2 separate regions of the Homo sapiens genome follow, and region 1 is linked to region 2. Evidence: promoter capture Hi-C in human tissues and cell types (Jung and others, 2019). All regions are on one chromosome and are shown on one strand. The core of a region is centred on a gene start or on the middle of the fragment in contact, and the rest is flanking DNA. Distances in the headings are between cores, read along the strand shown.

Region 1 (5,599 bases), core at 2,837-5,336, 210 kb before region 2:
TGCACTCCAGCCTGGTCAACAAGAGCGAAACCACATCTCAAAAAAAAAAAAAGAAAGAAAAAAGAAAAGTCGATTCCAGCCGGGCGCAGTGGCTCATGCCTGTAATCCCAGCACTTTGGGAGGCCAAGGTGGGCAGATCACCTGAGGTTGGGAGTTCGAGACCAGCCTGACCAACATGGAGAAACCCCGTCTCTACTAAAAATACAAAATTAGCCGGGCGTGGTGGCACATGCCTGTAATCCCAGCTACTCCAGAGGCTGAGGCAGGAGAATCTCTTGAACCCAGGAGGCGGAGGTTGCCGTGAGCTGAGATCACGCCATTGCACTCTAGCCTGGTCAACAAGAGCGAAACCACATCTCAAAAAAAAAAAAAAGAAAGAAAAAAGAAAAGTCGATTCCAGCCGGGCACAGTGTCTCATGCCTGTAATCCCAGCACTTGGGGAGGCAGAGGGGGGCAAATCACCTGAGGTCAGAAGTTTGAGACCAGCCTGGCTAACATGGTGAAACCCCATCTCTACTAAAAATACAAAAATTAGCGGGGTGTGGTGGCGGGTACCTGTAATCTCACCTACTGGGGAGGCTGAGGCAGGAGAATCTCTTGAACTCTGGAGGTGGAGGTTGCAGTGAGCCGAGATCGTGCCACTGCACTTCAGCTTGGGTGACAAGAGCGAGACTCAGTCTCAAAAAAAAAAAAAAAAAAAAAAGGTAAGTCGATTCTGCCACAGCCTGTCTAGTGGCCCACGTTTGCTTTGTGCACAAAGCTTGGTAGCTAGTGGTGAACAGACCTGCCACCCTGCTGGCCCCCGCTTGGTATGGCTGTGTAAGCAATTCTTGTTCACTGATTTTAAAAATACCATGTTTGAGGCAACAGCTTTGCTTCATGGCTGCAAAAATCTCTCCCCTGGTGAAGAAGCTACCCCGTGGGTATACGGCCTTGTGGTGGGGAGAATAACGGTCCTCCCCAAAGATGTTCACGCCCTAATCCCTGGAATCTGTGGCTGTTACCTTACCTGGCAAAAGGGATTTTCCAAATGTGATTAACGTTAAGGACTTTGATAGGGGGATCACCCCGTATTATCTGGGTGAGCCCACTGCAATCATGAGTCCTGAAAATGGAGAAACGTTTCCTGGATGTAGTAAGAAAGAGATATGCCAGCCAGGTGCGGTGGCTCATGCCTGTAATCCCGGCACTTTGGGAGGCTGAGTGACCCCCATCACTTGAGGTCAGGAGTTCGAGATCAGCCTGCCCAACATGGTGAAACCCCATCTCTACTAAAAATACAAAAATTAGCCGGGCATGGTGGGAGGTGCCTGTAATCCCAACTACTTGGGAGGCTGAGGCGGGAGAATGGCTTGAACCTGGGAGGCGGAGCTTGTAGTGAGCGGAGATCACGCCACTGCACTCCAGCCTGGGTGACAGAGTGAGACTCTGCCTAAAAAAAAAAAGAAAAAAAAAAAAAAAGAATTAAGCAACATATAGGACTGGATACTGGGTAATGATCAACGTTAACATTTTATAGGCCGTTTTAATTTTTTTTTTTTGAGATGGAGTCTCGCTCTGTCGCCCAGGCTGGAGTGCAGTGGCACGATCTCGACTCACTGCAAGCTCCGCCTCCCAGGTTCAAGCCATTCTCCTGCCTCAGCCTCTCCGAGTAGCTGGGATTACAGGCACCCGCCACCATGCCCGGCTAATTTTTTGTATTTTTAGTAGAGACGGGGTTTCACCGTGGTCTCGATCTCCTGACTTTGTGATCCGCCGCCTCGGCCTCCCAGAGTGCTGGGATTACAAGCGTGAGCCACCGCGCCCGGCCTCGTTTTTTTCTTTTCTGTTTTTTTTTTTTTGAGACAAAGTCTCGCTCTGTCACCCATGCTGGAGTGCAATGGCACGATCTTGGCTCACTGCAACCTCTGGCTCCCGGGTTCAAGCGATTCTCCTGCCCCAGCCTCCCGAGTAGCTGGGATTATAGGTGCGCACCACCACACCCGGATAATTTTTGTATTTTTAGTACAGACAGGGTTTCACCATGTTGGTAAGGTTGGTCTCGAACTGCTGACCTCGGGATCTGCCAGCCTCGGCCTCCCAAAGTGCTGGGATGACAGGCGTGAGCCACTGTGCCCAGCCAGGCCCTTATAATTTTCTACGGGCCTATGCTTGTTCTAAAAATATAATAGTAGAAAACACACTGGCTTTTCTGCAATCAGATCACTAATAGAGTGAGTTTTCTGTTTTTGTTTGTTTGTTTGTTTGTTTGTTTGTTTTGAGACGGAGTTTCGCTCTTGTTGCCCAGGCTGGAGTGCAATGGCGCAATCTCAGCTCGGCACAACCTCCGCCTCCCAGGTTCAAGCAATTCTCCTGCCGCAGCCTCCCGAGTAGCTGGGATTACAGGCATGCACCACCATGCCTGGCTAATTTTGTATTTTCTTTTTTTTTTTTTTTTTTTTTAGCAGAGATGGGGTTTCTCCATGTTGAGGCTGGTCTCGAACTTCTGACTTCAGGTGATCCGCCCACCTCGGCCCCCCAAAGTGCTGGGATTACAGGCGTGAGCCACCGCACATGGTCTTTTCTGTTTCTATGAAGCTTTGATAGGCTTCATTACATGCAGTTTCTCCTAAGCATAAAACTCCCTCTGAAAGCAACAGGACTTAGAAAGGACAAAAACCATGGAAAGCATCAACTGTGTGTTCAGTGCTGGATGTCATATTTAAGGACTGTGAAACGTAGGGAAACTTACAGCACCTTCCTTACCCTGAATTCACAGACAAATCAAAGCATTTGGCATTGGCAGCAGGCTTGGATTCCAGGCAATTCCAGAACCAGTCTAGATGCCTATGGGAGCACCGTCTCACCTACTGCTTTACCGAATGAAGACCTTGTGTAATCCATCCACTCCCATCCTCATTCAAGACACAGAGATTTCAGCATAGATAACAGGATATTCCCAGGCTTCACTTTTAACAGGACATTGGTGATTTTCACTGTGCCCCTTGGCATATGTAATGACTATAATTCATATGCGGATTCTTAATGAGAAAAATTTACAAATTACTGTTCAAAGTAAATTATGTTGTCTATGCAACCACTGCCTAAGCTAGAGGAAAGGGTGGGCTGGGTGTGGAAGTGAGCAACTCAAGGATATATACAAACAAATATACACAAAAACACACACACGGACACGACTGGTATCTGAAGCGTCGATGACTACGCTTGCTCTATTACCTAAAAATAAAGTGCAGCACAGTATAGCTATTCTGGTCTCTATACAATTAAAACTAAGATTGAGAACTCAGATATAACTCTTTTAAAGGGAATGCTAAATTCAGACTGAAAATGCCTGGCTCATTCATCTATAAACAGAACAATTTGAAACACATTTATTCATTATAAAGCATGCAGAACTTGGAAGACTATAATCTACTATTTTTAAAGACTGAGCCAAAAAGTACATATTGCTTATACAATATTTCAATTTTTCTTGGACTGAAACACAATAAATACCTCAACACAGCCTGTGCAAATAAGCAGCTTCAATATTCCTTCAGATTATTCCTAGTGCCTGAATGACTGACTCCACCATGATCCAGCTGCCTCAGGTTGTATTCACTAATTCTATGCATTCTAACAGACTGTATTTTTGGATGCAACTATACTATATGATTTACAGAAAACAAATCAGTATACCAAGATAAATACACTTCAGTGTGAAGTTTTAAAGTGCTACCAGAAAGTCAAATCGACTACTTACTCTCCACTCACTTTTTAAATTTTATTTTTTGTAGAGACGAGGTCTCACTATGTTGCTTAGGCTGGTCTCGAACTCCTGTGCTCAAGTGATCCTCCTGTCTCAGCTTCCCAAAGTGCTAGGATTATAGACGTGAGCCACCATGTCTGGCCTGTCCACTGACTTTTAAAATGTTCTACATAGATTTTGCCAAGAACTCCAATATTCAGTGACAATCATTTGAGTCTTCGTGGAGCTTTCAAAATACAGGTCTTTCTGCTGCCTTGCTGGGCCGTAGCTCAGATGTGGGAAGTAAACAGAATGGTCAAGATTTGGTCGGAATGGTCGGTAAGAGAATGGTCGAGGAAAAAATTCCTGCAAAATATGTTGCAAAAGGCTGGGCATGGTGGCTCACACCTGTGATCCCAGCACTTTGGGAGGCCAAGGCAGGCGGATCGTTTGAGCTCAGTTCGAGACCAACATGGCAAAACCCTGTCTCTACTAAAAATACAAAAATCAGTCAGGCTTGGTGGCATGCGCCTGTAATCCCAGCTACTCGGGAGGCTGAGGCGGGAGAATCACTGGAACCTGGGAGACAGAGGTTGCAGTGAGCTGAGATCGCACCACTGCACTCCAGCCTGGCTGATAGAGAGACTCCGCCTCAAAAAAAAAAAAAAAAAAAAAGTTGCAAAACCAGGTCCTCTTACTTTCCCTGCCTTCCTCTGCAACATTCCTTTTGAGATCAGTTTTTTTTTTAAATTATACTTTAAGTTTTAGGGTACATGTGCACAACGTGCAGGTTTGTTACATATGTATACATGTGCCATGTTGGTGTGCTGCACCCATGGTTCTGAAACTTTTTTGGCCATAGCCCCATAGGGTCCTTATTTAAGATATTCCCAAAGTCCCACACCCCAGAAATTCTGATTCTGTGAATCTGGAAAATCAGGGGCAGGAATGTTGCCTTCTAACACCCCGGGTGATTCTAACACAGGTGAATCTGGGCCACTATACAATACTGGTTTTTGTTTGCTTGTTGAGACTTGAGTCTGTTTCTTGAGACTGAGTCTCTGTCGCCCAAGCTGGAGTGCAGTGGTGTGATGGCAGGTTGCTCACTGCAACTTCTATCTCCCGGCTTCAAGCGATTCTTGTGCCTCAGCCTACCCAGTAGCTGGGAATACAGGTGTGCGCCACCAAACCCAGCTAATTTTTGTATTTTTAGTAAAGACAGGATTTCACCATGTTGGCAAGTCTGGTCTTGAACTCTGGACCTCTGGTCATCTGCCCACCTCGGCCTCCCACAGTGCTGATATTACAGGTGTGAGCCACCATGCCCAGCCAACACTGCTTTAAATACAAATTCTTCCTCTTGGGATCATAAGACTTACACGGACCTCTAAGTACCCAACATTTTCTCTTTATAAATATCAATCTTCACAAATATTATTTCCTTAAGTACATACTCCACTTAGCTCCCTCCTCTCAATAGGCCTGCCACTGAGGAAAACACCAGCTCTCACGGCACAGGCTACACTGAAGTTCAGTCATCGTTATTTAAAAAAAAAAAAAAAAAAAAGCTCAACAGTAGGTTTATCTCACTAGAGGTTTCCAACACACTTTATTTTGCAGACCACTGGTTTGTAGCTTTTGAGGACCAACATCTCTATCAATTCCTATAAAATGTCCAATCACTTTCAGTTCCGTAGCAGGCTCTTCCATACTGCACACCATGCTTATGGCTGGAGGTCCAGTTACACATGCATGAAGGCTGCCCTGCCCACTGGTTCCTGGAGGAGGGCGCGTCCGAGTTAAAGCCTCTTCCAGGAGCTTGAACTTCCCAGGGGTCATTTCCTTTGGCAAGAAGTCAGTTTACATGTGCAG
Region 2 (6,258 bases), core at 432-2,931:
GATAAGAATGGATCTTCAAAATGCCTATAATCAAAGCATTTTCAGATGAACCAAATCCACATCTTAGCTAGCTTAGCTCAGTTTGAAAAATTCGATTACTTGCAATTGTCCACGATTTTTTCACTAATTTTCATCAGTTTACACGTGACTTCTGCAGGTTGTTGGAGTTTCTACCCTGATGCCAATGCTAGAGAAAACGACAGAGGAAAAGTGGACAGGTTGGGGTTTGGCTTTGACCTCAACTTGATTAAAAGACGACATTTAAACAGAGCGGGTCTAAACTCAATATGAGGACTTGTGACATTACAATGAAAAAAGTCACCTGCCCCTAATTAAAGATGACAATGCATTTTGAGATATATTTTCACGATGGCTCTTGAGTTATCATTTTTTTAAAAAAAAAAGTCAAATCAGGAAGATAAAGACTCTTAACAAGTAACTGAACACAGACAAGACTGTATTCCACTTTCCCCTCCCTGACAAAATACAAACCCTAGAGTGTGGTGTACACCTGTTAATTCGTCAGAAACTAGATGGATTTCTTTTCTTTCTTTTCTTTTTTCTTTTTTTTAAAGGATGCTTATCTGACTGCTATATGATCTAGTCTAAAACACCTTTCCAACCCAAATCAGCTAGCTAGAGATGTTGGATGTCAACAATTCCGCCTTGGGCTTGGACACGGCGTGAGCTTCTTTCTCCTTCTTAAAAAGAACAACAACGGTCATCCTTTTTCCTCCTTCTCTTGGCGGGGGGAAGGGGGAAGACCCCAGAAAACAAAAACAGCAAATCTCAGGTCCGAGGGTCCACGCTCGGCCTGATGGCCAGGCAGGTCCGCGGCCGCCCCAGCCCTGCCCCGGAGGCGCCCCGAGGAGGGCTCGGGCCCCCCGGTGTCATTGTTTGCTAATTTCCTGAGCTGCCCTCCGACTTGTTTACGTTAAATAACATCCCTGCTCCCCCCGCACAACTTTCCCCGCCGCCCGGCGTGTGCGGCCGCGGCCCTGCCTGCCAGCCCGGCGGAGGCACCGGGGGACCGGGAAGGACCGGGGGCTCCGGGAGGGCGCGCCCCCCAGCGTGGACCCCCGCGGGCGGCCGAGGGCGCGGCGCCCGCTGCCTGCCCCCGCCGCCCCGGCGGCCGCTTACCTCGGCTCACCAGTTTGAAGCTCTGGGATTTCCTGCTTCTTTTCCTCTCGGAGAACTCCATGGTGCGGGGAAGGCGGCGGCGGGGGCTGAGGAGGCGGCGGCAGCGGCGGCAGCGGCAGCGGCGGCAGCGGCAGCGGCGGCGCGGGCTCGTGTCACCGCGGCGGAGCCGCCGGGACCAAGGTCCGCGCCTGGAGTCGGCGAGGGGAGGCCGCGGGACGGGAGGAACCACCGCGAGCCGGCTCGGGGCTGCAGGCGCGGGGCCCGGCGGCGTGGGCTCCCGGGCGAAGTTGCCCCCGCGCGGCGCCGCCTCCCGGTGCCCTAGGCGCCCCCGCGGCCCCCGCTCATGCCGGCCCGCGGGTTCCAGACGCCGCCCGCCGCAGCCCAACTTTCCGTTGGGAGCGGGCCGGGCCGGGGCGCGGCGGCGGCGGCGGAGGCGGGGGGCGGCTCGGGGCGGCCGGCCCGCCTGGGCTCAGCCTGCGGTCGCGGCGGCGGCGGCGGCGGCCCCGAAGACGCGGCGGGCGGGCTGCGGGGAGGGCGGCGGCGGGTGCAGAGCCGGCCGGGGCGCTGACCGCCCCCGCGGGAGGAGGGGCGCCGGCGGAGGGGGCGGTGCCGCTGGGACCCCAGGGCCACCTGCTGGCGGAGCCCGGCCGCCGCCATCCCCGGGGGCCGCCGCCGGCCTGGCCGCGCGGCGCCCCGAGGAGGCGCGGAGGCCGCGGCGCAGCGCCCTGGCCCGGGCCCGGCCGGCCTGCCTGCCCCCGGGGACGACGCCGCCGCCCGGGCCTCCGCTCGCAGACCCCGCTCGCTGGCCTCCCTCCGCCGCTTGCTGGGCCGAGCTAACTCCGTGCACCTCGCCGTGGGGGCGCGGACCGCCCCGACAACCACCTCCCCGCCCTCACATCCCGGGCGCCCCGGGGCCCGACGCGCTGATTTTAAGCAAGTTTTAGGGGGAAAAAACTTACCCATTTGCGCTCTCTCTAGAAGGACAGAGAGGAGGTTTTAGAATATTGTGGAGAAGAATATAGTAGAGAGCTCCCATTCCCTAACCCAGGCTGGGCGGATTGTGGAAAGAGCCGAGTCACATTCAAGGAGAGCACTTGGAATGGGGGGCTTGGTGGCCCTGGGGACTCTCAGGAGGCCATGGTCAAGGCAGGTGCAGGGCACTATGCTTCTCCACGTCATATGTCGGAATCATGGACCCAAACACAAAGCGCTTAGTAGTTATGTGTAATATTCTTTTCGGGGGATCAGAGAGCGCACTTCAGGCACCATTTCTTTCTCACATCTTTCGAGTGGGCCAGGAAAAGAATTTCACACTACCTGGGAATGGTAGGACAGGAACATGACGGGACATGCGTGAAAGTATCTGCCAAACCCAACCAGGAAGAGGGTAAAGAGTCGGGGGATGGGGGGGCTACCTCTCCGGCACGGGACAAAGGCCAGTGGCCCCAAAAGAGTAGAGAGGAAAAAGGGGAGGTTGACAAATGTGATGAGTGTCACGTGGGTCTCACCCAAATGAGGCAGCCGCTGAGGAACCGCTCTTATTTCAGGGACACAGAGTAGGACAACTGCCGAGGAAGGGGGACATTGAGGCAGCTTGCAGAAACACACATGGAGAAACAGAACCAAAGAGCAGGGTAACCAGCAAACCAGGCAGTGGAGGCAGGGATGGGTACCCATCCCGAGATCTTGGGTGATACCAAAGGCGGCACATCCGGAAGGCTGGTTATACCTAGCGTGGAGGGGAGAGGGAGAACTGTTTCTTCCGTTCAATAAAGCAAACCCTTCAACAAGAGGTTCTTAACCTTTTTTAGTCACTGTTTCCTTTGAGATTGTGTTCAAAGCTCAAGGGCCCTTTTTCCCAGAAAATATGTATGGGACATATAAAATTTAGTATAGATTTATTGGAGTTCTTAGACGCGCTTTGCTGCTCTCAGAAAATTAGTGGTAACAGTGATTAAAGCAACTACCCTATTTGGGTTTCTTCCTTCCCTGCCACCCCTTTCTTTAAAATCAGGCATTAAAATCTGAAGATGTTTTGGATTTTTTTTTATTTTTTATTTTTTGAGACAGAGTCTCATTCTGTCGCCCAGGATGGAGTGCAGTGGTGCGATCTCAGCTTACTGCAACCTCCACCTCCCGGGTTCAAGCGATTTTCCTGCCTCAGCCTCCCAAGTAGCTAGGATTACAGGCATGGGCCACCACGCCCAGCTAATTTTTTGTATTTTAGTAGAGATGGGGTTTCGCCATGTTGGCCAGGCTGGTTTCAAACTCCTGACCTCAAGTGATCAGCCCGCCTAGGCCTCCCAAAGTGCTGGGATTACAGGCGTGAACCACCACGTCCGGCTGTTTTGGATGTTTTTAAAGAAACAAAGCATGCAATTTTGTTCCCCAGGCTGGGATCCATTCTTTCTTTATGTAATGCCTTTTAAAATGTTATTCTCAAAGCCGTAAGGCTAAGTTCTACACTGACTGAGGAACTTCCCGGATCGTTCATGCTTTGGAGCATATAATGAGATTTTATTATGCTTAAACTATGACGAACCCAGTGAAGGTGTCATCCCAAGAAGTAAATCCCTGGAGAAGGTATTAACAACTTAGCATTTTCAGTTCAAGTGGGAATGCAAATTCCATTTACTGAAGAGAATATTTTTGATATAGTTAAGAATAAAATATTTGAGTAAGAATATTTTTAAATAGTAGTCATTTCTCCTTGACCCTTTTTAACCTGGCTTTCCAAAGTTGGTCTATGAGTGAGTTGGCCTGCAGAGGACACAGGCTACGCTTGTCTTATTAGCTTTTAGAGAAAATAAATGTCTGTTTACTCTGCATTTTGTGCAAATCACTATGCTCTTATCTAACAAAAATGTATATATCACATTTAGTATTAAAATTAATAATAATGTTTAATTAAAATGAGGTTGCTTGGGGCCAGGTGTAGTGGCTCACACCTGTAATCCCAACATTTTGGGATACAGAAGGATTGCTTAAGGCCAGAAATTCAAGACCAACCTGGATAACATCCTGAGACCCGGTCTCTACCAAAAAATTAAAATATAAAATAAAACATAAAGTGAGATTGCTTTAAGTAGCAGGTATCCATATAGTAGCTGATCCTTATCCTTGGGGAGTATGTCCAAGACCTTCAGTGGATGTCTGAACCTGAGGATAGTACCGAACCCCGTATATACTATGTTACCATCAAACCCCATATATACCGTGTTTTTTATTGTTTTATGTTTTCTAATAACCAAGCCAACAAGTGACTAACGAGCAGATAGTGCAGACAATGTGAATACGCTAGGCTAAAGAATGATTCCTATTCTGGGCCGGAAGGAGCAGGTTGGCTAAAGATTTCATCATGCCACTCAAAATGGGGCACAATTTTAAATTGATGCATTGTTTATTTCTGGAAGTTTCCATTCAATATTTGCAGGCCATAGGTGACTGCAGGTAACTGAAATCATGGATAAAGGGGGACTACTGTATTAGCCTGTTCGGGCTATCTTAACAAATACCACATACTGGGTGACTTAACAGCAGCTTATTTTCTTACCATTCTAAAGGCTGCAAGTTTCAGATCTAGGTCTGGCAGGGTCAGTTTCTGGCGAGGGCCCTTTTCTTAGCTTGCACACCACTACACTTACATGGCATAGGAAGAGAGCTGTCTTTCTCTCCCTCTTCTTGTAAGGCCACCAATCTTATCAAATTAGGGCTCCGCCTTTATGATCTCTTTTAACCTTAATTACCTTCTATTAAAGGTTCAATCTCCAGATACAGTCACGTTAGGAGTCAGGGATTCAACATATGAGTTTGTGGGGGACACAAATCAGTCTGTAGCCATCTTGTTTTCACTCAAATATAATGTCTGTATTGAGGGGTCCTGGAAAGTTTTCTAGGGGATCTACTGAAGTCATTTCTTTACCCCATTCTTTCCAATTTTAGTATATGTGCTGCCGAAGCTAGCACTCTTTGCCTCATTCTTAAAGGCCCCCTAAAGTTCCAGAACCACAGGTTTATGTGTTACTGGAGATCAGAGATAATTGGTCAAATATTCAATGACATCACGCAGGGCAAACATTTTATTATATGGCCATGCTTAAACCCACTTGATTATAAAGATTACATGTTGGTTTCAATCTTTGACAAAGCCAGATAATTTGGCCAGAAAACCTGAAGTAACCTTACCGCTAATACTTGAAATGCTCTTCCTGAAAACTGTCCTGAGAGGAATAGCATTATGAAAAGTTTCATCTTTATTTAGAGCTCTGCTGTCGAATAGAAATACAATGCAAGCTATGTATGTAATTTAAAATGTCCTATTAGCCACACTGAAAAAAGTAAAAATAAACAGATGAAATTCATTTTAATAATTTATCTTATTTAACTGAATACATTAAAATATTATCATTTTGACACATAATATGAGAATATTATTATTGAGATAGTTTATATGCTTTTTGTTATACAAAGTTTTGAAATTGGTATGCATCTTACCCTTAGATTACAAATCAATTCAAACTAGCCAAATTTCAAATTGTCCATAGTCACATGTAGTTACAGGTGACCATACTGGGCAGCTCAGATTTAGAAGGAATGTATGATTTGAACCATGCTATGTACGTAGATGTAGTATGTCTACAACTTGATTACTGTTTAACTGTTTTATTAATACACCTCAGAAAGAAGATGAGCAGAATGGAATTATTGGGCTTCAGGCTTTTTATAATCTTTGATTGGATTTTCTGGAATTGAATATCCTGTCATTAAATAGATTCTGGGAATCCTTCAGGAAGATTTAATATGTATAAATATCCACTTTTCAACATTAGGACAATCACCCATCAGACGGTCATGGAAGGAATAGATGCCCTCCTTTTAGCTGCCGTTTCCCAAGTGTTGCTGGCCTAATGCAGTTTCTACACCCGTTTACTTCATTGGTTTTGGTGATTGTAATTTAAGAGAAAGGAGGCAGTATTTATAAGATATTTCATAAGTGAAAATGAGAGTTGGAATGTTCCACAAATAATATTACCTTATATTTTATATGGGGCTTCTTTTACAGCTCAAGCATAGGTATGCATTATCTAACTCTTAATAGTTCTATGAGATTGGTATATA

What was found. The method cuts DNA at HindIII sites, captures the fragments that hold promoters and counts their contacts. A contact is called where the count stands out against the background at its distance.
Region 1: a contact is called between a fragment that was not itself captured here and the fragment with the promoter of BEND7 in region 2, in 1 of the 25 tissues and cell types used here (H1 embryonic stem cells).

Annotation. Positions count from the first base shown.
Region 1 is chr10:13,312,121-13,317,719 of GRCh38, forward strand. SEPHS1 (selenophosphate synthetase 1) reads right to left here. Exons shown (of 9, transcript NM_012247.5): 9 at 5,308-5,599. Among named protein-coding and RNA genes, the nearest start is that of PHYH, 15 kb to the left of the region's middle. The HindIII fragment of the contact is 4,836 bases long and covers 1,669-5,599 here.
Region 2 is chr10:13,527,333-13,533,590 of GRCh38, forward strand. BEND7 (BEN domain containing 7) reads right to left here and starts at 1,682. Exons shown (of 9, transcript NM_001369863.1): 1 at 1,141-1,682. The coding sequence starts at 1,201. BEND7-DT (BEND7 divergent transcript) reads left to right here and starts at 1,272. Exons shown (of 2, transcript XR_930674.3): 1 at 1,272-1,320; 2 at 2,688-2,932. The HindIII fragment of the contact is 10,469 bases long and covers 1-6,258 here.